Linked DNA regions of Homo sapiens: region 1 is linked to region 2. Evidence: promoter capture Hi-C in 16 types of primary human blood cells and fetal thymus (Javierre and others, 2016). All regions are on one chromosome and are shown on one strand. The core of a region is centred on a gene start or on the middle of the fragment in contact, and the rest is flanking DNA. Distances in the headings are between cores, read along the strand shown.

What was found. The method cuts DNA at HindIII sites, captures the fragments that hold promoters and counts their contacts. A CHiCAGO score of 5 or more calls a contact.
Region 1: a fragment that was not itself captured here is called in contact with the fragment with the promoter of PHF14 in region 2 in 3 of 17 cell types (non-activated CD4 T cells, monocytes and activated CD4 T cells); the score reaches 8.1 in non-activated CD4 T cells.

Annotation. Positions count from the first base shown.
Region 1 is chr7:12,214,952-12,218,024 of GRCh38, reverse strand. It overlaps TMEM106B (transmembrane protein 106B), which reads right to left. Exons shown (of 8, transcript NM_001134232.2): 2 at 2,998-3,073. Among named protein-coding and RNA genes, the nearest start is that of TMEM106B, 5.2 kb to the right of the region's middle. The HindIII fragment of the contact is 1,747 bases long and covers 724-2,470 here.
Region 2 is chr7:10,972,456-10,975,307 of GRCh38, reverse strand. PHF14 (PHD finger protein 14) reads right to left here and starts at 1,436. Exons shown (of 18, transcript NM_001007157.2): 1 at 984-1,436; 2 at 363-473. The coding sequence starts at 984. RefSeq lists silencers at 592-641, 1,622-1,681, 2,192-2,241 and an enhancer at 1,372-1,666. The HindIII fragment of the contact is 4,357 bases long and covers 1-2,018 here.

The DNA.
Region 1 (3,073 bases), core at 348-2,847, 1.2 Mb before region 2:
CCTTGAAAACCAAAACCGGCCTCTGAAGTAGAAGTCTCAAGCTTTAAGAGCCCCCTACATAATGAGCCTTCCAGGGCCCTTTCAGGTCTCACCCCAATCCATGTTAAAGTCACTTCAAAATCCGTGATTTCTTTCTTGGGTTGAGCTATATCCATAAGTTTAAAGGATAAATGGACCTTTAAATGCCAATTTTATAATCTTATTAGAAGTTGGCTTATCATATTAACTATTAAGGTATCAGATAGTCAAGTTCTCTTTAAAAGCTTTCTAAAATGCTTCTGTTATTTCCCCCGACACATCTATACTCTTCCTCTCATCTGTGCTCCCCCATCACACCCATATATAATTATACAAATACATATAACATGGATATCTGTATCTTTGTGTGTTTACATATCTCACCTTGTTTAGTGGTATTCATCTGGCTAAAACTACAACCCTGGTTAAAACCAACCCTCTGGCTCCTATGCATATATCAACAGAGCTAAACATGGACACAGAAAAACACACAACTACACTCACTGGTTTCATTTTTGATCACTCATGTCAAGTAGCACTTAATGATGTCAACAATCATACTACATTTCCCAAGTTCATACTCTCAAGCTGACTCTCCAAGACCACAATTTTATAACTTCAACTCTCTTCAAATCTTTAATATCTTCTTCGCTATCCTCATTCTTAGTTCATTATGTGATAAATGGAAGATAATTTCTACAAGCTTCTATTATCAGATCTATCCACCTACCTGCTTCTGTGTCCATACTTTACCTTCTCTTTTATTACCAAGAATAAACCACCTGTGCTTATAACTTACCTTTTATAGAAAAAAAGAGCAGCTCTTTGTTCTTGTGCAGTAGATCTGCCCTTCTGTCTATTCAAGAACATTGCTCCAATAATTCTCTTATCTCCCGAATTACCAATGTTTTCTCTACAGATAATTCTCATCAGTATACAACTGTCTATTATTCACTCTATCTTACAAAGAAAAAAAAAAATCCCTCTCCTGACCTCACAGCCCCTTCTAATGACTACCTCTCTTCTCTCTGCTATGGAGCCAAACCCCTCAGAAAATCTATTTTCTCTCTATGTAACATCTCCTATGCACTCTTGAGCCCACTCTATACATGCTACACGTCTTTACCAAAACCGCTCTTTTAAACTCTTCTGTGGCCTCCATATAACCAAATCCAATGGCCAGTTCTCAGTCTTCACACTACCCAATCTATCAGTAGCATATGACAGTTGGTCACTCTTTCCTCCTTGGTACACTTTCTTCACTTATCTTCCATGATACCACACACAATGATTTCCTCCTCTCATTCTAACTTTTCTTTCTCAGGGTCCTTTGTTAATTCTTTCACTGACCTTGATATGCTACAGTGTCTCAGGATTCGCTAGGGTCTCATTTTTGCCATCTGCACTGACTAGCTTGCTGCTGTCATCCAGCTGAGCTTTAAGTGTCATCTATACATTGGTAACTTGAGGCTGGGCGCTGCAATTGAATTCCTGACCCTTATGATAACTAACTGCCTAATGAACATATCCACTTCCACGTCAAATAGGCATCTCCAAATATCCATGTCTAAACTTGAGCTCCTGAACTCTCCTGTGACATATACACTCAAATAATCTTTTTTTTTTCAATTTTAATAAATTGCTACTACATTCTTTCAGTTGCTCAAACAAACCCCCCCAAAAAAACTCTGGAGTCATCCTTGATTTCCTACTTTCCATAATCTGTATCCAGGCGGCCAAAAAAGTTTACTGGTCATACCTCAAAAATGTAACCAGACTGCTAAAACAGTACTCCCCTACCCCCTGAGCCTGGTGCATTAATCCCTTCAACTACAATAATTATTTTATTCTTAAATAGCTACTATCCTTGTGAAAATAAAACCATCATACTCAAAGGCCAACGCAAATGTAAACTTCAATTCAAACCCACAGCATTTTAAGATACATTTTAAGCATCTTAAAAAGGTACACAAAGTATACTTTATACTTTGACCTTCTTCCCTCTGGGTATCTCCAGGGTCACACATCAACTTTCACCAAGAAGATAATGAGAACAGCATAAAGTATCTTTATTATTTCTACTTATTGCCACTGTTCCTAAAGTAGCTTACAAGCAGCACACAGGGGATTATTTCCTTCTGACGTCCCCTATGATATATCACAAACAATTTTTTTTTTTCAATTTGGCTCATTTTCACGTACCATCCCTCTTCACAGAGTTTCTTTAACTCATTAGGGCACAGCCAGCTTATTCTTCTTCTTTAGATAATGAATTAAAAATATTAGGTTGGCCAGGCGTGGTGGCTCACAGCTGTAATTCTAACACTTTGGGAGGCCAAGGCTGGATGATCGCTTGAGCCCAAGAATTCGACATCATCCTGGGAAACATGGGGAAACTCCATCCTTATTATTAAAAAAATAAAATTTTAAAAATAACATGAAAGAATAAGCTTCCTTACACATTAACTCTGGCTGGGCATGGTGGCTTACTGCTATAATCCTAGCACTCTGGGAAGCCGAGGTGGGAGGATTGCTTGAGGACAGGAGTTCAAGACCAGCCTGGCCAACAATTGCGAGATCTCATCTCTTAAAAAAAAAAAAAAAATAGGTCAACAAATTACTTAAATTGCTTCTAACATCTGATATAGCAAAGTAGCAAGTAACTATGATGTCATCTCTACAGATGCCAAATAGGACTAAAAGTTTTCATTTACAAGACAGTGAATATCTGCTATAATAGCAGGTGGGAATGAAAAAATACTGGAGGTAGTGAGGTGGTTTTCTTTACTGCTTTAGGAACCTTAATTAATACTTTATTTGTTTCTTTTGCATCTTTTTGACTGAAGGTAACTGATATGATGTTTCAACTTTAATTCTAAGAGTCCTCTAAAACAGGTGGTTCCTGAGACCCACAGTTTTTATAATACTTGAGCAAATACCTAAAATCATTTAAAGGGAAAACAATACAATAACACATACCCCTAGGAATTCTTCCTGTTCCCTGACAAGTAGGGCAGGTGACACTATCTCTTCCTGTAAATTCCACATATGGAAA
Region 2 (2,852 bases), core at 187-2,686:
TGCTCAGGGACTATTAATGGTCCACACACCTCTCAGGATACTTTTCTACTTCGGGATATCTTTCAGTTTTTTCCTCTATAATATAAGCATAAATATATTTTAAGGTGTAAAACAGAGAAATCCTTTTGCATCTTTGGAAAAAGTCCTTCCCCTGACTGCTAATTATCTCTGAGGAAAACAGAAGCAATTATAGGTCTAGTGACAGGATCTAAAGGCAAAATGGGAAATCAAATGGACAAAATAAATGAAGTTTACGTGCTTTCACTTAAAATTGGCATTTTAATCAAAACCGATTTAAAAAGTCTAAAAATAAGCCTAACTCCAGAAAGCTGGGAAAGGGGAAGAGAGAAGGAAATATTTACCTGAGGCATCTCCAACTTTAAAATCACTGTCATCTGAACTATCATAATCAAGAGCTTCCAGCAGAGAAGCTGCCAAAGGCTTCACCTGCCTCCTCTTGGAGCTGCGATCCACTGTGAAGAGAAAAAAATTACATTGTCATTCATAATCACACCAAACACAGGGGAGAGTTGTGGTGCTAAGAGAACATAAAGATGACCTCGCACAAGGAATTTTTGTCTAACTGAGTTCTCAGCAAAAGGGGTCAGGAGAAGGTTGGGGTGCAGAAGCAGGGTGGGGAGGGCTGGACAGCTCCACGGGCAGTTTCAAAGGCAGCTCCAGCCCTGATGCTGCCAACGCCAACTCAGACCAGCTAAAATCGAAGCTGACCCTCTTGCTCATCTTTTCGAGATGTTTCTGCACCTTCCTCGTAATCCCCCACTTAGACATCGTAACAGTCAATAAAAACGGCAAAAATCAGGGAATAAAACAAGCGGGCTTCATTCCCGCGGACCATGGAGGGCGAGGGTCCACCAATCCTGCTTTCCCGCAGGACTCTCCCACCCCTGCCCTGCTCCCACCGGCCCTGACTTCTAGAATGGCTGAAATGGACCTCTCGCCGCAGAGGCCTCGGATACACTTACTAAGGAATCCGTGAGGTGGTCGTTTGGAGAAGACTTAGGGAGAGGCTGCAGGAGCCCAGGCAGCGCCGAGGTCGGGGACTGGGGCCGCGAAGACAAGTCCGAAAGATGCTATTTAAAACCGGCGCGCAGCCAGCCGGACAGGGGCGCTCCCAAGAGTAGCCCCGCGGTCCCCTAACCCCCCGCCCCCCCGGCCTCGCCTGGCCCTGGCCGCTCGAGCCCCTTCCCACAGCGCTCCCTGGCCGGAGAAGACCTCCGGCCCAGGCAGCGCAGTCAACCCGGCGGCCCCGGGGAGTTAATTTCTCCCGTTAAAACTAGAAGAAAAAAAATTAAAGAAAGAAAAACTTTATTAGCCTGGACCAGAAGCAACGAAAGACCAGAAATTGCACAGCGCGAGGGCGGCTGCCTCAGACAATAGGGAAAGCAGCGACCCGGATACAGCTCTGAAAAGGAAGTGAAAACACGAGGCTGAGCGCAGCCCTGAGAGCAGCAGGAATTGAGGGCGCATGCGCAGGACTCGCCCCCGCGCACCCTTCCCGAGCAGGAGCCGAACAGAGCCGAGTGAAAGCCCAGGGAGCCGCGCGGAGGCGAGCGGAGCCGAGTAGTGCCAAGGCGGAGCAGAGATCCCCGCCAAACCCTGTGCAATTCCGCCCATAAACCCCAAAGGCTCCGCCCTCTCCGCGCCTAATTCACCTCCTGAGTCCAAATCCCTGGGAGGCCAGTTTTTGTTTCTGATCTGTTTTTTAAGGATTTACTGAGTAAACGTTCCACAAAGGGATGTTTGCTACCTTAAGCCACTACCAATATTTAAATGATATTGTCACCGGTAGAGGATCGTGACTGCAAGTTGTCCAGGTTCTTGGCGTTTTTAACAAAGAATTGGACAAAACGCCCAGCAAAGCAAAGAAAGAATGAAGCAACAAAACAACAAAAGCAGGGACTTATTGAAAATTAAAGCACGCTCTGTACGGAAGCGACCTGAGCAGCGGCTCAAGGGCCCGGATACAGAATCTTGAGTCCAAATACCCTCTAGAAGCTTCCTATTGGCCACCTAATGCTCACCTCATGTAAATGAAGTAACGCGCAATCAGTCTGATTGGTTGCAGAAAGCAGCCAACCAGAGGCTGAAGTGAAGTTACAAAGGTCATGCTCCTGTGCAAACATTGGTGCAAAAAGCAATCAATCAGAGGCTAGGGTGAAGTTACAAAGTGGTATACCTCTATGCAAAGGAAGATTTCCCCTGCAATCAGTTTGATTTCTTGCAGATGGTGAAGTTACAAAGTGATACTTCTATGCAAAGGAAGACTCTCCTGCAATCAGTCTGATTTGCTGCCCACAGCCAATTTCCCATCTGCCCTGCAGAAAAAGTGGGGGTTTGCAAAGGGAGTAGCCTCTGGTCCTTTTGTTACTTAGGCATGGAAAGTTAGGGGTTTCCTTTCAATTTAGTTCTTAGGAAGTCGGAGTGACACATCCTTAGGTTCCCTGCCTCCACACCCTATTCTCCTGCCTCACTCTCACCCAAACTATCATTGCCATGTGACCTCTCAAACTTTTCTATTGTGCTATAGAAACTTCTATTCCAAAATGTATAACCTACTTAGTAAACATTTTTCCTTTTCAATGCCCATTCTTTTTACCTCCTCATCTGAAATAGAAACAGTTACCCTGCAGCCCTCTCAAATGAAAACCACTCATCCTTCCATACTTCATTTTCTCAAGGTGCAGAAGTGGCATCCCATGCTTAATACTCCTCATTGCCTTTCAGATATTTATTCTTCCAGTTAAAATCCTAGGAACTTGGTTATTTTAAAAACTCCACTCTGGGAATTTCACTTCCATTCTACTTTAAACACCAACCATATCATGGACTGA